Regions from separate parts of the Homo sapiens genome. Here region 1 is linked to region 2. The links are contacts of gene promoters, found by promoter capture Hi-C in blood cells and fetal thymus (Javierre and others, 2016). All regions are on one chromosome and are shown on one strand. Each heading gives the region's core, a stretch centred on a gene start or on the middle of the fragment in contact. The rest is flanking DNA. Distances are from core to core; before and after follow the strand shown. Region 1 holds the start of COBL (cordon-bleu WH2 repeat protein). Region 2 holds the start of DDC-AS1 (DDC antisense RNA 1).

Region 1 (5,796 bases), core at 1,974-4,473, 790 kb before region 2:
GAACATGAGAGGTGGAGGTTGCAGTGAGCCGAGATTGCGCCATCGCACTCCAGCCTGGGCAACAGAACGACTCCCTCTCAAAAAAAAAAAAAAAAAAGTGACAGTTTTAATAAGGACATTTAAAAGCATGTGCAGGAAAGAGTCCATAAAGAACACCTTTCCCTTTGAGTTTCCCTAGCGTGTGATTGTGCCATTTGCTCTGCTGAAGTCAGTAAGCACAGGAAGGAGTGCGTTCTGCTCAGTGACAAGTGGTAGGCTGATCTTGGTGACATCCTCTACAAGGCCCCACTCAGCCCTTTGCTTTCAGCCCATCACCTATTCCTCTTTCTCACTGTCTGTCTGGAAGAGCTCAGCCCTGTCTGTTACTGATTTCCTTGCCTAGCCCTCCCTATGAGGTGGCCACATCCACACCGCAGACAAAGGCTGGCATACAGTAGATGCTCAGAAATATCTGTTGAACTATACAATTTTGGAAAACAACTCCCCACAGTTGCATCTCTTGGGGCCCTTATCAGTCAGGGAAGTGTGGGTGGCAATATGCACAGAATCTGATCAGGTCCTAGGCCCCGCCTGCCCCCCCAGGCTCTGTGCCCCTCCCCACAGTTGACACAAGTGATCGGCAGTCCTGGCCCATTTAGATTGCAGGCCCTGGGTCACAGCGTGAAGCTCCTCCCTCTGGCAGAAGTCTGACCTTTACTCTGTGTCTCATCCTGACAGCTCTAACCAGGCTTAACCCTCCACTTCATTTCTGGAAACTGGTCCCTGTTGGGTTTCTGAGTAGATGTCTGGGGGCCTTCCAAGGATCTGAGGTTGTCCAGGCCTAGGGTCACCTGGGCCTTTTTCCTAGAACAGCAAGTTGCATCTTGGCCTGGAGGTGGCACGTCACCTCCTTCTCATTGTTTTTCTGGATGTTGAGGAGCTCTCTTACTCTTCACCATCCACCTGCTTCGGGCTTCCTGTTGCCATCTGTGCTCAGCATCTGAGACACTGGGTCACTCCGGGCTTCTTTTGCTCCATGTCCCCACCATACTTCCTCTTGCTGCCTCTGCCAGGTGCTTGGAGTATGTGTCACCTGTGAGGTGGACTTCTCCTTAGGGATTTCAATGGGGTCTGGCTCACAGTGCCTAGTCTAGTTTTCAGCTCTGGCCCCTCCTGGGCAGCCCTTCCCATGGTGGTGTCCAGAGCAAGGAGGGGCTCCCCAGATTTTGGGAGAGACTCTCTAATACCCACACCCAAGGTGCAAGAAGAGATTCATTCATTCAGTGCACCCTTTGTTTACTGAGCACTGACTCCACCCTGCTAGGCACTGCCCTAGATGCTGGGGGTGATAAATCAGACAAAGGCCCAGCGCTTGCTAAGATCACATGCTAGGGAGGAGACCAATGGCAAACACATGAGCAAAATATATGCGGAATAGGATATGTTATTTATGTTTTTTATTCCATTTATATATAATGTATATACATATTTATAAGTTTACATAAATACAAATTTTATGCATTCATATAAACATGTCTATAAATATAACACATTACATGTAAACATTTCTTTATAAACTTACATTTAAATATAAACACACACATATATACACACATACACATATACACACACACATATATATATACACATACACACATACACACACACATACAGTGACAAATGCTCAGAAGAAAATTAGGACAAGGCAGCAGTCAGGAGCTTGAGTGAGAGCTGCTTTTATTTTGTGTTTTAAGACAGGATCTCACTCCATTGTCCAGCCTGCTCCCCACTCGCCGCCCCGCCCCGTAGCTGGGATTACAGGTGTGTGCCACCATGCTCCGCTAATTTTTTTATTTTGTAGAAAGTTCTCCCAGGTTGCACAGGCTGGTCTCCGACTCCTGAGCTCAACTGCTCCTCCGGCCTTGGCTTCCCTGAGTGCTGAGGTTACAGGTGTAAGCCACTGTGCTCCGCAGGGTGCTTTTAGACAGAGAGGCCAGGAAAGGCTCCTTGGGGAGACCACGGGATGAAAAGGAGGAGGAAGAGCACTGTGGAGCAGCATCCCAGCCAGAGGCCCTGAGCCGGGAAAGCGCTCCACTCATGGGAGGCTGGGCTGCAGGGAAGTGAGCCCCAGGGCCACCTGGGGACTTAGGAAACCTTCTAGGTGGGAGCAGGGAGCACCCAAGATCTGCCAGCCACGAGTAAGGACTCACATTTTGCATATAGACTGGTCTGCCCCCCCTTCAGTTAATGAGAAAGCAGGGGATCAGAGGGAGGAAGGCTGCGCAGGCCTCTGGATACCTCATCCAATGACAAGATCGCAAGGGGAGCGTCACCCCCAACGCTATCAGGCTCGCCCGATCTGGCCTCTTGTTGGTCTTTTATTCGAGTCATTGAAACCATATGAAACTGCCACTTTTATAGGTCAGCCCATCATACCAACCAAGATCTTAGAGAGTGGAGGTGAAGTTGGGCAGATAAGGGACCTCTGGCTGACTTGCTCTGGGCCCCGGCGTGGCCGGCAGGACCTGCATATCTGCCCGCCAGCCCGCACTGGAGTGGCAGGGTTGTGCCACAGTAGCGCCCAGTGAATCAGGTTGGCAAACTTAAGCGAGCATTCACCTAGAGCGAGTGAGTTGTTAGCAAAGCGAGGCCGCGCTCCAGCCCGCACTGTTTCTGATTCCGTGGGACCTGGTGGGCCCCAGAAATCTGCATTTCTAACAAGTTCCCAGGTGTTCCTGACGCTCCCGGTCGGGACTCCCACTTTGCGACCCTACGCACTAGACATTTGCTGCACGGATAAAGGTCAGAGAGCGGTGCCGGACACTCACTTCTCACCCTCCAACGTCAGTCCTCCCGGGCTGGTCCGCCCACCTCGCCCTCGCACGGCCTCCAGGCTCCAGGTGGTTCCCCTCCCCCAACTCCGCCAGGAGGCGCCGGCCCCGGGATCCCCCACTCCGCCCAGAGAGGGTCGCGCTCCCCCCAGGGGTGGAGGAGCACGGGGAGAAGCCCTCTGCCGCACCCGCGGGTGTCGGTGCAGGGCCCAGGTGCCGGAGGATTCCTTCCCCGGACGCTCGCCGCGGGCCGGGTCGGGACTCTGAGCAGGCGGGGCGGGGCGGGGCGGGGGCGGCGCTCCGGTGGGCGCGGCAGAGCAGCCGGGGCGGGGGCGCGGCGCACCTTGCTCCCGGCGCCCCCGCCCCGCGCCGCCGCCAGCCCCTCCCTGCGCTCCCGGCGCCCCCGCCCGCTAGAGACGATTCCAGCCCCTTCCGTCCGCCGCGCTCCGCCGCTGTCCTCCGCCGGCCCGCGTGGGAGGACGATGGGTCAGCGCGGAAAAAGTGAATGAGGGCGGCAGCGGTGGCGGCGGTAGCCAGCGCCTGACTCGGCGGGCCCGGAGCACCGCCCGCGTCCCGGCCCCCGGCACCATGGACGCGCCGCGCGCCTCGGCGGCCAAGCCCCCGACCGGGTAAGCGGCCCCGCGGTCGGGCGGGGTGGAGAGGGGGCTTCCCTGGGCTCGGACGCCCGCGTCCGCACCGCGCGCTCCCGGGCAGGGCGCCCTCTCTGCCGCCCCAGCGGGTGCTGGTGGTAGTGGTGGAGCAGGTGGTGCGGTGCTGGTGTTGGGTGCTGGTGTTGGGTGGTGGTGCGTGCTGTGTACTTTGGGCACCCGGGTCGTTGCCCAGGTAACCGTGTCGGGCCGGGGCCGGAGCGCACTTTTCGCGCGGGGTGGTTTGTATGCAGGCGTCCTTATGGGGGTCCCCGCCAGCACAGCCCCCACTCAGCTCCGAGCTTTCCTCAGGCCCCCCAAGTGTTTGCCGTAGGGGTGGAGCGGGGAGCGAGGGGACGCCCGGCCTTTGACTCCGGCCTCTTCCCTGCGGGCTTGCCCCTGGCCGGTTCCCATCAAGTCTTCCCTCTCCCGGCCTCGGCGGCAGCCCCAGGATCGGCTCTCCCGGCAGCGTGGAGGGGAGGGCTCCCCGGCTTCGCAGCCGCCCGGGCCCCGCGTTCTCGGAAGGTGTTCGGATTGCCCGGAGGGTTTCATGGCAGCAGCTCTCCCTCCCTGCCTTTATTCCAGGGTCTCCCCTGGCAGTGGAAGGGGCGTCCTAGTGGGGCCAGGCCTGAGGCGCAGACATCCGTAGCGGACCCGCGAGTCTGGCGGCCCATCCCTGTCTTCGCGATTCCGCTTTTGCCCAAACCTCTCCCGGTTTCTGTTTGCTATCCCCACACCTTGCGTGCAGGGATTACACGTCACATTCAGGATTTGACTCTCAGAAAGAGTAATTTCCCTCAAACAGGACGAGCAGCCCTGCTCATTATTCAGACCCCGAGCCAGGTGCGCCGTGCTCATCCCGGCCAGCGGTGCAGGCTGGGCCGCGGGGTAGCGCGCAGTCCCGGTGGACTTTGTAGTTTTCAGCGCGGCGCGCCGGGGACCTTCGAACTCGCTCGCTCGCCTGGAGCAAATGTGTATGAGTCTTGCAAATGGAATGAGGGTTGGGGTGAGCCCTGCACCTGCTTACTGAATGGGCCCACTTTCTGCTATGGCAACTGGACTTGAAGGAGGCAGCTTTGGGGACAACAAATCTTTTTTTCTGTTACAGTTGTGTCCCACTGACTCACCCTGCCCATGTGCCCATAGGCGGGCGTGTTGCCCAAGTGTGTAAAAGACTTTCAGTCGGGCTCTTTTTAAAATTTTAAAGTTTTCCTTTAATGCCAGGAAAAGGTGAGCCAGGTTAGCAAATCAAATAATCCTGAAGCTGAGGAATGTTAAAAAGAAGTTTTCTTTCTCTCTCTCTTTTTTTTTTTTTGCAGTGCACTTACTGGTGGTTATATAATTCTCTTTGAACAAACAAATTCCCCAGAAAGAAAGTAAATGTGGGAAATCCTTTTTCATGGTAATAGGCATCCCAAAATAACAGGGAAATGTGAAACAGAGGTATCTTTAAATCTGTGGCTTTCATAGCCTATTAAATGAGCCTATTTAAGGACACTGAATTATTTTGTCACTATCACCTTATAAATAAATATGAAGACAGAGAGAACATTTAAAAGGCCGGCAAAACTGTATCCAAAGAGTATCTGTAAGATCCTTGAAGGGAGTCTAATGATAGAAGTGAAAGGACTTACCCTAAGAGCGTGGCACTCTTTTCAGCCTGGTACTGTGTGGCAAGAGGTAGTCGAGGGCTGGCCTTCTCAGGGCTTCCCAGAGCTCTGATTGGCTTTCATATTTGAATTGCAAAGTAAAACTAAGGATTTTTGCTATGGAAAACATGAAATTATTCCTGATGCATTCAGTTCTTTCCCTCACTCATATCCAGTGTCTAATTTACTTGTCCGAACATCTTTGTCCAAGAAATGTAGACATATTATTTTTAACTTCTATTGTTCTCACTTTGTCATTTGTTAATACTTTCAGTGAAGAAGCATCAAGAAAATGTTAATATCCTTATATTTTTTCAGACAAGAATTACGTGTTTAATAAGCAATTTTGTGTTCAAATCTGAGGAGATAAATGGTGTTAGGTCTTCGAATATTTTATATAATTTAGGTGTATGCTTGCTAATTATAAAGGTTAGATATTGCTGTGAAATTTGTGGCTTTAGTACATTATTGGTGGCAGGCAGATTCTGTTGGCTCTTCACTGAGATTACTCCTCTGTTCCCTGAGATTAAGGCAGTGTTTGCAGTGTGCTTGAGGGAAATTTGTTTTCCATCTGATTCTGCAACCGTTTATTATAAAATCAAACTTTCAGTAAGCCTCTGTCTTCCCACATGATAACAAACTGATGTGGTGAAGCTGTTGCTGTTGCTGAAACTACCACTCCTCCTTGTG
Region 2 (5,724 bases), core at 2,454-4,953:
CTGAGGAAAATGAAATGTCAGGCATAGTGGCTCACGCCTGTAATCCCAGCACTTTGTGAGGCCAAGGCAGGCAGATCACCTGAGGTCAGGAGTCTGAGACCAGCCTGGCCAACATGGTGAAACCCTGTCTCTACTAAAAATACAAAAATTATCCAGGTGTGGTGGCGGGCACCTATAATCCCAGCTACTTGGGAGGAGAATTGCTTGAACCTGGGAGGCAGAGGTTGCCGTGAGCCAAGACCTTGCCATTGCACTCCAGCCTGGTTGACGAGAGGGAAACTCCATCAAGAAAAAAAAAAAAGAAAGAAAAGAAAACGTCAGCTATGTTGTAAGCAAAGCTTCAATACGTTGCTGTGAACCATACCATTCTACGTAGCAGCAACAATGACTCAGCAATGATTCAGCAAATGAATCATGCTTCAGTCCCAGCACAATTTTCTTCTGGTCAGTGAGTATGCAGCTGGAGAAGCCTCCTTGGCCAAGATCACAGCAAGGATAGGCTGTCACAGGTGCCCTTCCAGCGAGGGGAGGGAGCTACTGCACACTGTCCGCAGCCAGTGCTCTGTCAGCTGCACTTTGCCTTGGTGAGGGCCAGATGGCTTTCTGGCCTCTGGAACATCAGTCCTGATTCTCCAGGGGACAGAGGGCAGCAGCACTCAGCGACCCAGTGGGACAGCTGCGTGCCTGCAGAGGGCGTGGTTTTGATTCCAGGCAAGGGCATGCATGGTCTAACCCTTTACAAGAGGCCTCGATGTTGGTGGCCGACTTACTTTTTCTTTTAGTTTTATACACGGGACAAGGTCTACTTTTCCATTTCTTTTCCATTTGTTCCTCTCATTTTTTTTTTTTATTTTGTCTTGTTTTTAGACGAAGTCTCATTCTTGTCGCCCAGGCTGGAGTGCAGTGGCACGATCTCAGCTCACTGCAACCACTGCCTCCCGGTTCAAGCCATTCTCCTGCCTCAGCTTCCCAAGAAGCTGGGATTACAAGGCACCCATCACCATGCCTGGATAATTTTTGTATTTGTAGTAGAGACAGGGTTTTGCCATTTTGCCCAGGCTGGTCTCAAACTCCTGACCTCAGGTGATCCACCCACCTCGGCCTCCCAAAGTGCTAGGATTACAGGTGTGAGCTGTAGGAGATCGGTCAGAGTGGTGGGAGAAACTATAGGGAAAAGGAGCAGGCCTTCTGAAAGGTCAGAAGGCTCTGCAAAGCTCCATGGCAGAATAGCTGAAGGCAGCTGTTCTATAACCCTGAGGCAGAGGATAAGGAGTAGGTACAAGGGAGTGTAGGGGAATTTATCTTGGTCAAGCTTGTTTGTTAGAAGTTGTCCAGGAACTGACCTCGGAACATCCTTGCACGTGACATTCCCTGAAAGGGGAACAATAAATGTTAATTATCTACAGGTTGTGTTTGCTCCAGGTTTTCAGCATTGTGCTTGCACTCAATAAAAGCAAGCTGCTCCAGCTTCTCAGGGCTGCTCTCTGGCCACTAGAGCCAGGCAGTCACTTAGCTGCTCTTACACTGCATACCTGTGTCTGAGCACTCATTTCCTCCATCGGCCAGGGTCTGCAGGACAGATCCAGCAGTGAGCCACTGCACCCAGACTGTTCCCCTCATTTTGACCCTCCCTAGCATTTGGTGAGCCCTGCTGATTCAAGACTCAGCTCTGTGCAGTGTGGAGATTTTTCTTCTACTGTATGTTAGTTATTGTGGGCCACGTCACTCTTTTTCAGGGACTTCAATTTTCCACAGATTGGGTACCTCTTCCATGATTTCTCTCTTCCTTTCGATATTTCCCTTTTTTGTTATCTTCTATATTTTAGGAAGCTTTTCATGGTTTTCTCCACATGATTATGTGATTATGGACCTGGTGTGGTGGCTCACGCCTGTAATCCCAACACTTTGGGAGGCCAAGGCGGGTGGATCATTTGAGGTAGGAGTTTAAGACCAGCCTGGCCAACATGGTGAAATCCCATCTCTACTAAAAATACAAAACTTAGCTGGACATGGTGGCATGTGCCTGTAATCCCAGCTACTCAGGAGGTTGAGGCAGGAGAATCATTTGAACCCAGGAGGTGGATGTTGAGGTGAGCTGAGATCATGCCACTGCACTCCAGTCGGGGTGACAGAGTGAGACCCTGTCTCAAAAAAAAAAAAAAAAGTCCCCTTTCCACCTAGATACTGGACATTCATGGTAAAAATGAAAAGACACAGGAGCTTTCTTGTCATATTCCCTGTGTTATTTCAGTATCTACATGTGAATATATGTATACAGACAAAATTGAAATGATACTACGCATATGGATTTTCTGCATGGTGCTTTCCTTATCATTTTATTGTGAGCATTTCCCACTATTTAAATATTGTTTGAAAAAAGTATTACTCCATGATTTTCTATGATGCATCACAATCTATATAAATATATAAATAATACCTAAGATATTTGTGTTGCATCAAATTTTCCATTCTTATAAAAAAAATTTTGGAGGACACCCTTTAGGATGAAGTGCAACAATCTTCCAAGATGATCACCTTCCTCCTAGGACTCTCCTGGCTGTATTCATGTTTAACATTCATGCTCCCCACTAAATCCAAATGGAACAAAACAAAAATTGAAGCATTTCTAGGTCATTGCATCTTATAACAAAAACAATTTCATATTCAATTTTTTCAGCAGATGATTCCTCTAATTATATACTCCTCAAAAAAATCTTATCAATCCCTCATAATATAAGCTGTGTCTATTATAATAAGAGCTACTTTTCATTGAATAGCAATTATGAGCTTGGCTATGTTTTAGCCTATGTCTTGTGCTTTGTGTTATTGTCTTCATCCTCAAAGTATTTATGAAGATTGATTGGATTATGGACAATCTTTTTCATGGATGAGGATATTGAGTCCCAGAAAGTTAGTAGAACATGCATAGCAGCAAAAGTGAATTAAAGCCAAGGCTAGTAGGAAAGACAACCAGAGTTATGACTGTTACACCAGCTCATCCCTGACCATAGGCTTGGGTTGGTGTCCAGAGATGTGCATGCTACTATGGGCTGCATTTTCGTTTCATTAAAGACAACCTCATTTTTGAGAGACCATACAAGTCTTTAGCATTTGGGTAGGAATATTCCTGGCATCTCTCAGCCCCCGCTTTAACACAATCTTCCTGTGAGCCCAATCCACTCAGTTTTTTTCTGGATGAAAGGAAGAAATGGGATCTGTGTTTGCCACCGGAAGCTCACCCTTCTCAGCAGACAAGGCTGATTGTCTGTAATTGGTGAGGCCCCAAAGAGCACAGGAGCCTGGTGACAGCCTGTGAGCCAGCCTGCATTATTGATCCCCTCAGAGCTGTAATCACAGCTGTGGGCGTCAGCGCAGTGATGCGTGTCTGAGTCAAATGGCAAACTGTTGTTGTGAGGCTGGACAAATGTGGTCTGGGAAAATGGTCTCTTAATTGGGTTTTAAAGTTCTTGTGGAAGAAAAGACAATTTTTTGCTTCGAAAAAAACTGAAGATGAAAGGACATTTCTGCTCACGGCATCAGCAGCCAGAAGCGTCAGACCTTACCAGCATCCCCTCCTACCTCCTGAGCAGGCTTGCCATGGCAACCTTTGTCTGCTGCTATCGCACAGAGCCATCGTTCCTGCTCTGTACCACATGTCACCCTCCCCGTGCTTCTCTCCGCGAAGATCTGCTGCCAGCAAAGTGCAGAGAGCTCCACCTGACATCATGCTTGAGGCCACCAGGCCACCCTGGTGGCATCGGGGTGGTGTGGTTCTAGATGTGCTACTGACGATTTGCTCCTTCAGGCTTTTAAAACATCATTTTGTTGACTTAAGAAGGTGAATTTTCTCTTAGGACATGAACTAAGCTCCCCCATCCCCCCCCAGAGAAAAGCCATAATGAGTTGTCATGGTGATTCAGGTGATTCATGGTGACTCATTTCATTAGAATGTTCAGAGAATGAACACCTGCGTTCCAACGCTTCAAGCAGAGGGTAGAATTTAGCCGGGGAAGCTGCAGTCACGCCTGCTTGTCAAGCATCAGAACAGGGAATTGTGCCTTCCACCAGGCTTTTCATGTTACATTTCCAATGAGAATGGGTGGGACATGACAAACAAAATGTGTGTGGGGGCAGATAGGGGGACAGGAGGAAATCAGGGACAGGAATGATGGGGTACATAGGAGAAGTGTAAGTAAGGTACAATGCCTGCTCTCAGGGAGCCTGGGTTTCCTGGGATGGCTGATTTAGCTTTGCCAGCCAAAATTGGTTTCTCCCCTTCTCTCTCCTCTGGCCAAGGTTTGTAAACCTGGCCTAAAACAATGTCTAAAATCATTGCTCATGAAAATATAGCCTGAAGGAAATAAAGTACCCATTTTAGATGCTGAATTAAGAGACGCATATATCTGTATATTTGAACCCATCCATTAGTGCTACAGAAACATGAATAAATGTATTTATCTTTCAATATTACTGTCCCACCAAAGGATGTGGGTTGGCTCAAAAGAATAAGTAAAAGTAGTGTCAAGGCAAAGTCAAAATGAGAAATCAGGGTCAATGAAGAGAGCATCAAATGTTAAGAAGAGAGGTTAGCATTTCTACTTAATTATTTTATTATATATTTCTCTGTAAAAACCTATCATGTTATAAACTTTTTCAGAGTCAACAAGAACCTACCTTCTTTTATTTGCCCTTTCTAATGTCCTTTCATACTGGTCGGTAGATGGGTTTCTTCTACGACTTACTTAAGAGGGAAGGTGCTCGCTGCCCCTACCTTTCTAGGCCCATGGCACCCTAAAAAGCGCAGGCGTGGGCTCACTCCTAACCGTGCCCTACCTAGCTGCTGATTTGGGGCAAGTTAGTGAACCTCTCTGCACATCTGTTTCCCCACCTGAAGATGATAAAACACAAAAATGGGATTATTTTTACAACTTAAATGGGATAACATAGCAGGCCCTGAATCCATTAGTTTGCCAGGGGTTCCCTAACAAAATACCACTGACTGGGTGGATCGAAGAAGAATTTCTTTTCTCACAGTCCCGAAGGCTGCAAGTCCAAAATCAAAGTGTCCACAGGGTTGGTTCTCCTGGGGCCTCTCTCCTGGGCTTGCAGATGGCCACCTTCTCCCTGTGTCCTCACATGGTCTTCCCTCTGTGCACCCACATGTCTGGGGGCCACATTTCCCCTTCTTTTTATTTATTTATTTTTTTGAGACTGGGTCTCACTCTGTCGCCCAGGCTGGAGTGCAGTGTTGTAATTGCGGCTCACTGCAACCTCCGCCTCCCAGGCTCAAGTCATCCTCCCACCTCAGCCTCTCGAGTAGCTGGGACTACCAGGCACGCCACCATGCCTGGCTAATTTTTGTATTTTTATAGATACAGGGTTTCGGTATGTTGCCCAGGCTGGTCTCGAACTCCGGGGCTCAAGTGATCGACCCTCCTCTGCCTCCCAAAGTGCTGGGATTATAGGCAAATTTCATATTATCAGAAACATGTCAGATTGGATTAGAGCCCAGCCATGTGACCCCATTTTCTTTTAATTACCTCTCTAAAAAGCCTATCTCCAAATATGGTCACATCTGAGGTCCTGGGGGTTAGGGCTTCAACACATGAATTTTTGGGGACACAATTCAGCCCGTGTCATTAGGAATCAAAAGAAACCCTTTAAGGCATCTCTTAGTCTCAAGGAAAATGCACCCCTATTTTATAAACAAATGCAAATCGCTCT

Evidence for each region. The method cuts DNA at HindIII sites, captures the fragments that hold promoters and counts their contacts. A CHiCAGO score of 5 or more calls a contact.
Region 1: the fragment with the promoter of COBL here is called in contact with the fragment with the promoter of DDC-AS1 in region 2 in 10 of 17 cell types (erythroblasts, M2 macrophages, neutrophils and 7 more); the score reaches 15.9 in erythroblasts.

What each region holds. Positions count from the first base shown.
Region 1 is chr7:51,314,236-51,320,031 of GRCh38, reverse strand. COBL (cordon-bleu WH2 repeat protein) reads left to right here and starts at 3,223. Exons shown (of 13, transcript NM_015198.5): 1 at 3,223-3,439. The coding sequence starts at 3,399. LOC124901633 (a long non-coding RNA gene) reads right to left here and starts at 3,048. Exons shown (of 2, transcript XR_007060324.1): 1 at 2,808-3,048; 2 at 1,700-1,985. RefSeq lists enhancers at 1,779-2,371, 2,372-2,965. The HindIII fragment of the contact is 13,046 bases long and covers 1-5,796 here.
Region 2 is chr7:50,529,738-50,535,461 of GRCh38, reverse strand. It overlaps DDC-AS1 (DDC antisense RNA 1), which reads right to left and starts at 3,703. Exons shown (of 5, transcript NR_033845.1): 1 at 3,580-3,703. The region is part of intron 4 of DDC (dopa decarboxylase); the gene reads left to right. RefSeq lists enhancers at 1-690, 3,054-4,253, 4,613-4,782, 4,631-4,800. The HindIII fragment of the contact is 9,169 bases long and covers 1,833-5,724 here.